Regions from separate parts of the Homo sapiens genome. Here region 1 is linked to region 2. Evidence: promoter capture Hi-C in 16 types of primary human blood cells and fetal thymus (Javierre and others, 2016). All regions are on one chromosome and are shown on one strand. Each heading gives the region's core, a stretch centred on a gene start or on the middle of the fragment in contact. The rest is flanking DNA. Distances are from core to core; before and after follow the strand shown. Region 1 holds the start of CDKL2 (cyclin dependent kinase like 2). Region 2 overlaps LOC101928864 (a long non-coding RNA gene).

Evidence for each region. Contacts are between HindIII fragments. The CHiCAGO score rates a contact against its expected background, and 5 or more counts as called.
Region 1: a contact is called between the fragment with the promoter of CDKL2 here and a fragment that was not itself captured in region 2, in 3 of 17 cell types (fetal thymus, naive CD4 T cells and total CD4 T cells). The highest score is 7.9, in fetal thymus.

The regions. Positions count from the first base shown.
Region 1 is chr4:75,628,359-75,633,713 of GRCh38, forward strand. It overlaps CDKL2 (cyclin dependent kinase like 2), which reads right to left and starts at 2,170. Exons shown (of 14, transcript NM_001330724.2): 1 at 1,684-2,170. The HindIII fragment of the contact is 1,829 bases long and covers 1,660-3,488 here.
Region 2 is chr4:77,150,972-77,156,498 of GRCh38, forward strand. It overlaps LOC101928864 (a long non-coding RNA gene), which reads right to left. Exons shown (of 2, transcript XR_244659.5): 1 at 4,299-5,527; 2 at 3,783-4,005. Among named protein-coding and RNA genes, the nearest start is that of CCNG2, 3.5 kb to the right of the region's middle. RefSeq lists an enhancer at 1,623-1,672 and a silencer at 3,383-3,452. The HindIII fragment of the contact is 2,089 bases long and covers 1,108-3,196 here.

The DNA.
Region 1 (5,355 bases), core at 920-3,419, 1.5 Mb before region 2:
CCCGCCTCGGCCTCCGAAAGTTCTGGGATTACAGGCGTGAGCCACCGCGCCCGGCCTTGAAATTTTTTACTCATATTATATGACATTTTCTGAATAAAGGCAATCCTAAGAGAATCTTTCTTGTTTTACCAATGATTGACGAAGGTCCAGCAATCATTGGACAAAATGCTTTCGTACAGAAAAAAATTATTTCAGTCCAAATACAGATAGATTTTAACTATCTATTATTTCAGTAATAATAGATAAAAAATTATTTCAGTCCAAATACAGATAGATTTTAACAAGAAATAATTCTTGCCTGTTGTATTAATTGTATACTTACGGCAATCTAAAATTTACTCAGATCGTGAACTGTTTTTCCTATTTCTCTATTGGAACAGTGATGCAAAGACAAAACAAATATTCTCTTTGTTCTAGCAAACTATGCTAATCCAATGTATACAATACGTTTTCCACACTTGACATATAATAGTTTGAGATTTTATAATATATATATTTTTAATGTAGCTATATGTGGAGAACCAGAAGATTGATCTTGAGGGGTGGGAAATGAAAACAATACCAATGAACATCGACTTAAATTATTATTTTACTACCAGTTTTCATAGTAGATTCTACTACAAACTTTTTACAGAGCAGTGTCCCAGACACTAACTTTCCATGCATTTGACATTTTACCTTCTATTCCACTTCCATTAACTATTTTTTAATAAACTGTTTGTATTTGAAAAAAAAAATCTCCATATAATTCTATCCCTTCTTAATTTTTTTCTCTTCCATTAAGAGAGTATGTTTTATTAAGCACTAGGCTTTAGGTTTATCATACCAATGACAAAAATAGCTTGAATCTATAACCTGGATTATTTTAAAACATTTTGTAATTGATGTCCTCAATATTTGAAAGCACAAAGTGAACCAAAAAAAATGACTTTAAGCATGTCTGAGGTGTTCTGAAGCATATCCCAAGCTAACATTAATGCAAGTTGACTGCTTCAAGTTTATTCTCCCAACCAATTGCATATCTGGACACACCACATTGAACACACCTGCTTTTTCAAGTGACACTGTCCACAAATACTTTAAAAGTATCACAGCCTACAAAGCCTCCTGTTTCCTGAAACAGTTACTCATAAACTATAACTTCTCATGCCTTCTACTCTTGAACGGAAAGGTAATACAAACGAAAAAGAAACCTGGCCAATGGGCAAGGTGTTATTTCTGGATGGTTCTAAAAGCAACAATTTTGATAAAAATATTTGGAGAATGCTAATTTTTTATTTTGTTTAAGACAGATTAAAGGGCCGGGAGCGGTGGCTCACGCCTGTAATCCCAACACTTTGGGAGGCCGAGGCGGGCGGATCACCTGAGGTTGCGAGTTCGAGACCAGCCTAACCAACATGGAGAAACCCTGTCTCTACTAAAAATACAAACTTAGCCGGGCGTGGTGGTGATGCCTGTAATCCCAGCTACTTGGGAGGCTGAGGCAGGATAATCGCTTGAACCCAGGAGGCAGAGGTTGCGGTGAGCCGAGACCATGCCATTGCACTCCAGCCTGGGCAACAAGAGTGAAACTCCGTCTCAAAAAAAAAAAAAAAAAAAAAAAAAAAAAAAAAAAAAAAAGATTGAAATCTTTTATAGATCAAAGAACGAGATAATAGAAGCTTTAAAACGTACTATACTTACCGTTTCTTCAATCCGTTCGCATAGAAAGACCCAAAGGTTTTCAACTTGGAAACAAATTTGAGGTGAAATGCATATGGTTCGCAGGTCCAAAAGATGCTGCCTAGCAAACTAGCAATTCCAGCGCTGTTGTGATTTCTTCTGCGGACGCAGTCACGAGTCCAGGGCGAAGCAGGCAGGGAGGCAGGTGGGCCTCGGTCCGCCGCAAGCTCACACTTAGGAGGACCACGGGCCGCATGCTGTCGTCGTCAAGGCAACGACCTCACTCTGTCCCCAACCATAGGCACAAAGTCTTGGGAGACAGATACGGCCCAGGTCAGAATGCGTTCACGGCAGGCACCAACACCTGTGAAGGCCAAGGGCTAGAGAGCAATTAGCTGGGTGAGAGGCACCACCTCCCAGCTCGTAAGGCGCCCAGTACCTGGAGCCTGGGAACCTGCACCGCTCCAACTACCCCTGGGCGAAGGCGTTGGCCGCGGAGCTGCAAGGGGGGGCGGTTTCTCACCCGCCCCGAGAGCGCCAGGCCTCCCTTCTTCTGATTGGCCGAGCCGAGTCGTCACGAGCCATGATTGGCTCAGGGCCAACCACCCCGCCCCTTCACCTAGGGCTCGGCCCAGGTTCTGCTCCCTGACACGCAGAGGCCCTGCGTCCCCACACGCCTTGGTTCTCGTCAGGAGGCGCCTTTCTGCCTTCCCCAGCGGGAGGAGGCGATTGTGATGCCCACGCGAAGGGTAAAGGTGGCGGTTATGTAGGACTGCGAAGACTATGCAAAATGCGATACGGTTTCCCTCATAGCATCGCCGCTGGGGCAGGGGCGGGCGCCGGGCGCCCTGAGTCGCGTAGGCGCGGCCTGACCGGGATTCCATGCTTCCTTTCTGTTCTGGGCGGTGGGGCCAGTGTGAGCCAGGTAGGAGATAACGGTGACAGTTTAGGAGGTGATGATTAGTAGGCGAGGCAAGGTGGAAGAAGGTAGGTGATGACAGACCTGACGTTAGGAGGGACCTTGGGAAGGCCAGTCTGGCCATTGAAAGTGAGGGAAAACACTGAGATGGAGGAAGGGGAAGAGAGGGCATGAGTGGAATGGGAAAGCGCTGGGATGGCTGGGGATCTGGAGGACACGCACAACACCCGCGTATGGCAGCCAAATGGGGTGGAGTTAGGGCTTGCGATAAAACTTGCCTTAAATGCAAAAATGCAGCTCAATCCACGACTGAGCAAGACTGGTAGGTCAGAATCATGCACAGGCTTAAATCACACAGGAACAGAGCTTACCCCATTTTCAAAGAATCTGAGGCAGCGAGGAGGCCATAAGGCCAGTAAAATAACACTTTCAATCATGATAACTAAATGTTCATGATCATTTTGGTCTCGAAACTACTTTGATTTAGGGAATAGAGTGTCCTGGATAGACAAATGTCTACCATATACCCTAGTCAATATTAAGGTATTAATCATTAATGTTAAGGTATTGATTCCTTCTTGTACATTAAGAAATAGACATTCTTTTTATAGTCTTTTGTGAGTTTGGTTAGTTTGCATTAATCTCCCAGTGGTTAATTACCTTGGTCAGACTGCTTAAAATCTAGTTCCTGAACCTGTAATATTGAGAACCAGACCTGAGGCCTAGTTATGGAAAGAATAGAATTATTTGGTCAATTCAAGATGTGACTCTTAGTGTAGCAATTAGCTCTGTCCTTAGCTGTGTCCAAGTTGCGAGAAGCCCTGTCCCATTTGGTACCTCTATAGGCTATAAGAGAATCTGATGAACTTCTTTTATATGGGGGTAGATTCAGTTTTGTTGGGCCTGAAGCTTAAGAACAAGAGCGCAAAACTATTTTACTTTTGCAACTTTATAATCATATTCAACCGTATAACATTTTAAGGCCCCTTCATGCAAGAGGCCTAGAAGCTTCAATAATCTATTTATATCTCACAGGGAACCAAAGGATAAAGACTGAAAATACTGGATTTGGCGAACAAGTGATGCTTTAGGAAACAATTTCAGCCAGATGCGGTGGCTCATGCCTGTAATCCTAGCACTTTGGGAGGCCAAGGCGGGCAGATCACCTGAGGTCAGGAGTTTGATACCAGCCAGGCCAACATGGTGAAACCCTGTCTCTACTAACAATACAAAAATTAGCTGGGCATGGTTGTGAACGCCTGTACTCCCAGCTACTTGGGAGACTGAAAAAAAGAAAACAAACAAACCAAAAAAAAACAATTTCAGTAAGAACTGAGTTTGAAAGCCAGTTGTAGAGGACAGAGGTTATTAAAGACTTACACATTCTGGCCATCTACAGGATTGTTAATAGAGAAGGTATTATGTAGAAACAGGATTGTGTTACTATTTTTTCTTTCTTTTCTTCTGAGGCGGAGTCTCACTCTGTTGCCCAGGCTGGAGTGCAGCAGCACGATCTTGGCTCACTGCAACCTCTGCTTCCTGGGTTCAAGCGATTCTCCTGTCTCAGCCTCCCAGGTAGCTGGGATTACAGGACCCCACCACCACGCCTGGCTAATTTTTTTCTTTTTTTAGTAGAGGCAGGTTTTCGCCATGTTGGTCAGACTGGTCTCGAACTCCTGACCTCAGTTGATCCGCCCGCCTCAGCCTCCCAAAGTGCTGGGATTACAGGCGTGACCCACCGCACCCGGCCTATTTTTTCTTTTTAAAGAGGGAAATATTTATAGGGAAAAAGAGTGGGGAGAGACCTTAAAGGGGCAAGAAAATGAATAATTAATGAAAAACCAAGGAGAGGTACTGAAGAGTAGGTAATAATATATGAGAAGGGGTTAGGCTTGAAGAGGTTTAGAGAAAATGGAAAAAACTGAGAAAAGTGTAGGGCATACACTGTGGGCCCAGGCCATCTCAGTAAAAGAACTTTATTTTTGCATAAAAAGGTAATGGTGAGATAGAGGCTTAAGGATTTGAGAGCAGAAATACGTTAGAATAGTTAAGAAGTCATTTTGATATAAAAGGAACACAAAATAGTAAAAATGTGCTCACTTGAGCCTGGGTACCATGAATTTACAGTGAACCAACTGACACTGTTGCCCAGAATTGGGCAACCCCAAAGGAAAGAATGGAGAAAATAGATGATATATAAGCTGCCTCTTTTAGAGAACTGGTAATGCAAAAAGATTAAACAAAGGAGTTAAGGAATTTCAGAACAAGGATCACTGAGAAAAAAAAAAGGAATCAAAGATGCTGAAGAAAATACCATTAAAATTGCTTGCCATGGGCTCCTGCTAAATAGGAAGATAAATTTTGACAGCAGTTAGCTAATAAACTGAAAACGGAGGCACTGAGGGTCTGGAAGTCATCATAGGCATGAATAATAAGTTTAAAGGAGCAATATAGGAGGAAAAAGTTATCAGAGAAAGCAGTTTGTGTATTCCAGATGTTGGAAATGGCACAGGATGATCAGTTCTAAAGGGTGGAGTATTTGGCTGTTCCTTGGGTAGCTGAAGTTGAGTGGAAAATGTCATTGAGTTCAAAGAAACTTGAGGTCACAGTATGAAAAATTCATTAACATGAACTACCAAGTAGGACTATAGTGGAAGAGGCTGAGAAAGACATTAATCAGTGAAGAAAGTGAAAATGTTCTAAAAATCTAAAGAAAACAGTATGGGAGTGCATGAGGTAGATGTCAAGAGAGGACAGCTTGAGAGATGGCAATG
Region 2 (5,527 bases), core at 902-3,401:
TCTAGATGGTGGAAAAGGCAAGAAAATGAATACTCTCTAGAGCCTTCAGAAGGACTGCAGCCCTGCTGACACCTTGATTTTAGCCCAGTGAGACCCATTTTGAACTTCTGACCTCCAGAACTGTAATATGATAAACATTTGTTGTTTTAAATCCCTAAATTTGTGGTAATTTCCTAGACCATCAGTGTGAAATTAATATAGATGCTATCTGACTGCCAAGGCTGGTTTGTAAAAGGAGACACAGTGTTCACCTGATTTTCTTCAGGCCCTGCCACCATGCCATGAGGAAATGGAAAGACCACGTGGAGTGGTCACATATAAATGTTCCAGCCACCAGCCTCAGCAGAGGTCCCAGCCCACAGTCAGCAACAACTCCAGACACGTGAGTGGCAGCAAGATGATGCCAGCCGCAGTTACCATCTGATTACAACTTCATAAGAAACCCTGAGCAAGGGCTGCCCAGCTGAGTTCAAGCAACGCCCCAGACCTGTGGGTGATGATAATAAAATTATTGTTGTTTTGAGTCACTAAGTTTTGGGTGATTCATTGTACAGCAGTAGATAGCCGAAGCAGTCAGTATGTAACAACTGTTTAAAATTTACACTTTGTCTTGAATTGTCTCGTTTTAAATAAGTATTCACTTTCATATCTAATTTTGTATTTGTAAATTCTTTTTTTCCTAGAGAGAGCCCCTCCAAATAGTAAAGCTTCAAATGTACTACCTTAAATCTGGTTCTACTTCTGCATGTAGCCACAATTTCTTATTCAGAATGTGGTTGAAAACATAAAAATATACGTAATTAAACAGACCTGAGGATCTTTGATATAAAGCAGTCTTTCTTTTTTTCTGAGACGGAGTCTCGCTCTGTCACCAGGCTGGAGTGCAGTGGCGTGATCTTGGCTCACTGCAACCTCCACTTCCCAGGTTCAAGTGATTCTCCTGTCTCAGCCTCCCAAGTAGCTGGGACTACAGGTGTGTGCCACCACACCCAGCTAATTTTTGTATTTTTAGTAGAGACAGGGTTTCAACAGCAGTCTTTCTTTTTAAAGTTAAAAAAAAAATTTCATTTTGAAAACACTTTAAAATGTTAACAGAAGCAAATTTTAAGCTTATACCACTTATCCATATCACTTTAAACATCAATTGCCTTTTCATTTGAGATAAAAAAAGAGATCATGACTCTCACAGACAGTAAAACTTCTTTTGGAAATAAGATGATACATTCAACAGATGTATCCTAAGTTACTCTTTGCTGACAGTGTCAACTTCATATAGCACTGTGATGTCAAGGAAAGACAGGAAATCTCTGAGTTAGGTCATGGTTCTTGAAACAAACCATGAAAGAAAAATGTGTTACATAAAGAATCATGTACAATGTACCAGAATGTAGCCTGAGCCACTTAAAATATATTTTAAGATGATTTTGAGATGATTAGTTCTGATTTCAGGCATTGCCGAATTCTCAGTTCACTCTCCTTTGCCAGGCTTTTCACATTATGTCAAAGCTACTTCATTTATTTCAGTTGATTATTCGTGTAAAAGAGAGAGCACTGGATAACAAAGTACTGAGTCGGGCTTCAGAGTCAACCGAGCATTTAGTTCTCAAGTTCTCAGGTTGCAGAGATAGTTCCTACAAGGCTACTCTCTTGCAGGCTAGTAGAACTGGGAGGGACTAAAGTGGCTGGCTGGAAAAACTGGTCCTCTTGCTGTAGTCATTCAGATGGTGTCTACAGTGTGGATAATTTCCACAATTCCAAAGCCAACCCTACGTAGATAAACACTATGAATGTTTATGAATATGGCCAACCCTTGCATAAACACTCTTCCAAAAAAACAGGGCATGCTTCTAGCATTAACAACAAAAGCAACAAAATATATAGTAAATGGATTGTAAAATGTTGATTTCAAATTTGAGATGGTCTTGTTTGTGGGAAAATCAGAAAGGAGAATATATGAGATGTTTCACTGACTTATTCTGCTGATTGCTTGAAGACAGAGATTAATCATCTGCTATATAAATCATCTCATTCTTCCAGGTTCTGATTTAAAAATGAGCTCTTGGTTGAAAAATCTGCATTACTTCAAGATAGCACCCTATGCTACTATGCTATACCTTCCCTGTTTCTCTTCCTCAGAGAGGCATTCCTGTCTCCATTGCAGGTTCTGTGAAGCAAGACTTATCTAAGCAGGAAGTTTGGGGCTGCAAACCACTTTTTTTTTTTTTTTTGAGACAGGGTTTTGCTCTGTTGCCCAGGCCAGAGTGCAGTGACATGATCATGGCTCACTGTAGCATAGACCTCCCAGGCTCAAGCAATCTTCTTGTCTCAGGCTCACATGTAGCTGGGACTACGGGTGCATGCCACCACGCCCAGATAATTTTTAAAATTTTTTGTAGAGATGAAGTCTCGCTATGTTGCCCAGGCTGGTCTTGAACTCCTGGGCTCAAGTGATCCTCCCACCTCAGCCTCCCAAAGTGCCGGGATTCCAGGTATGAACCACTGTGCTCAGCCTAATGACAGAAAACAGCCCAGGCAGGGACCCAGCAATAGTGAGTAGACGGGGAGGGGGAGTATGGCCTCATGTCAGCTTTACGTATCCTTATCCTCAGGTTCTTTCCTTTCAGGGCTGCTTTCCACCAGACTTCTTTGATGAGGTTAGGGATGATCCCTTCCTTTCCCTTCATGAAGTCACAACATGGTGCAGCCTAGAAATATATAGCTAGTTGCTTTCACAAATGTTTGTATTCAGTCATCACATATGAAGCAGACACAACTACCTCTGGCTTTTTGTTTTCCTCAGTTTAGAAAGCTGAGGCTCAAGACCATGGGAATTATTCAGGGTATTCAAGGCACCATTTCTAATGAGTAGGAAAGCTGAGACACAAAGCCAGTTTGATCCATGGCCAGTGCTTTTGCCCTACACCTCAGACATACCAGGGTATATGCTGGGGCCTTGTTTTATTTATGTATTTTTGTATTCCTGGTGCCTAGTAGCATGCCTGGCACTCAGTGTGTATTCACTAAATTTCGATTGAATAAAAAGCTAGGATTTATTGTCAAAAACCATATCTTTGAGGAGAAAGATGATATTTGGAAAATTGTAGCAATTTTGATGCCTTATGAAGTTCAGGGAAGTCTAAGTCATTTAGGGAAGCACTGCAACTGTCCCATGAGAGTGCCCTATTTTCAAGGTAGAAGCTTAAGTGTGAGCAGGTTTGCAGCACACTTGTCAGGAGTCAGGGATTCACTGAATGTAGTCAGTGTTTCTGTGTGGGCACTCCCTGCTTATTACCCATTCTGTGAGCACCTTTTAGTTTCAGTCTCACATGTCACTGAGGACAATGGGCTGCACATCAGGCTTTCATGGGGTTATTGGTGACAGTATCACCCAACCCCACTGCACCCCTACCACATGCTGTAGAAAACCAAGTATCTTAAATTGTCTGGAAGTTCTTGGGGGCTGCCAAGTTTCTGATTTCCTTATTTTGTATGTGTGCATGATACAGGAAATTTGCCTTCCAGAAAGCTCAGGAAAGGCTAATGGGTAAAGCCTGATTAGCCTAAGGGGAATAATGTCTTTTTCATAAATAACACTTTCAGCTCCGGCAAGGTAAGCCAATGTGATAAGGACAAATAGAATGAGGAGAATTTTTTTTTAAAAGATATATTAACAAACAAAAAATTCTGCAAAGTAAACAGAGAAAACCTACATAATCCCCCAGCCCATTTCCTAAGAATATCATCATTCTTAAAATGAGGTGTTTAAAAAAGAGGATGCTGTATTAATAATTACTGGATCTGTATTTTTAATGATTGCTTTCCTTTAATCTTAAAGAGATAAGTGGACTAACGTGGATAAAGGGCTCCATCTTGGACAACTTGATCAGTCTTTTCTTCTGTGCTGAGCAGGGCCTGCCAAGAGCAGGAAATTCAACGCCATTTACAAAGCTTTCTTGTCTTACTCTCAGAGAAAGCCATCACTGTTCACATCATTCAAGAGGCTGTCTGTAAAAGGACACATAAAATACCAGTTATGAAATATAGAGTACACATTTAGTATAGCTTCATATCATTTAGTGCTAAGCAGCAAGATGATTATGTCAAATAAAAGTTATCACTTATTTATGTTTAAAAGATCAGATAAGCATTGGATAAAATTATGTAGCCTAAGCAAAGGACAATTTCTAAATCTTTTCCTTTTTGTTTTATATAGTCTGTTATTTTTAAAGTCTTCTACCACATAAATTTGCATTTCCTCTTTCACATCACTTATAAAATAACGTATGTTCCTTTTTTACCTTTGCCTTCTTACTTGAAAAAAACATCCCCAGTCTCCTTCATGCTTTGATCACAAACTCTTCATTTCTCTGATGGTGGATAGTTGGTCGAGCTGCTTTCTGTCTGTGGGCCCTGTCCACTCAGCCTATTGATGCTCTGTACAATGAGCTGTCATCTCTGTAATTTTAATCTTAGCTCTAGTCTCTAAGTTAGTTTCATGCTCCTATTATGTTTATCAGCATAGATTTCCAGCAAGATGATTATGTCAAATAAAAGTTATCACTTAATGTTTAAAAGATAAAACAAGCATTGGATAAAATTATGTAGCCTGTAAATCATTTAAAACTGGTGTGCTAATTTTATCTTATTTTCCAAAACCCTCACCAAGCTCACACCTCTCTGAAATAAGTGTTAGCTTTTTGGGCTGCCTTCCCCCAGTTGCTCTGTGCTCCAAACAGATGCCTGTGTTTAGTCCGAGCTAATATGCAAAGGGACCTAGTTTTAAAATTCCTTAGCTGCTCCGCAAAGAAGAGCGCTGCCAAAGCTATGTTGTGTGCCTTCCCATATTTCACAAGTAACAAAATAATTCACAGAAAACACATAGAAGAACAGAAAGGAGAAATCTCTTCCCAGGGACTATCTGATTATGTAGATTAGAACTCACGAATATGGTATTTTCTAATTTAGGAGGGAGAGAGTAAACAAATAAATGTTCCAGGGCAGTCAACCACATGCCCCATTGATATTCCGTGTGAAAGTGTCTCTGGCCTAAGGCACCTGGTTTGTTTGCTTTTTGTCCCGTCCTGGGAGACGTGTCGCCTATAATAACAACGCTAATTATAATGAACAATAAATGATAATTTATGGGTTACCAAGGACCAAGAAGCTCTGGGAGTCTTCATTAAAACAACAGCACTACAACCTCTGGAGGTACGCCGTAATTATTAGATGTTTACGTACCCTCATCAGCGTGCTAAGTTTTTATTGAAAAGCCCCTCCTTCAGTCCCTCCTGAATTTTTTTAAATTATGGAAAAATTCCAAGACACAGAACTAGAAAGAATACTGTAATGCAGCCTCGAGTACCCATCACCCAGCTTCGACCCTCAACTTTTTGCCTATCTTATTTCACCTCTCTTCTCCATTTTTTTTTCTCTTGGACTGTAAAATTTTAAAGCAAATACCCAAACTTGTAGCATTTATTGAATATTTTAGTAAACGCCCCGACAATGTTATAATAATTTGGTGGGT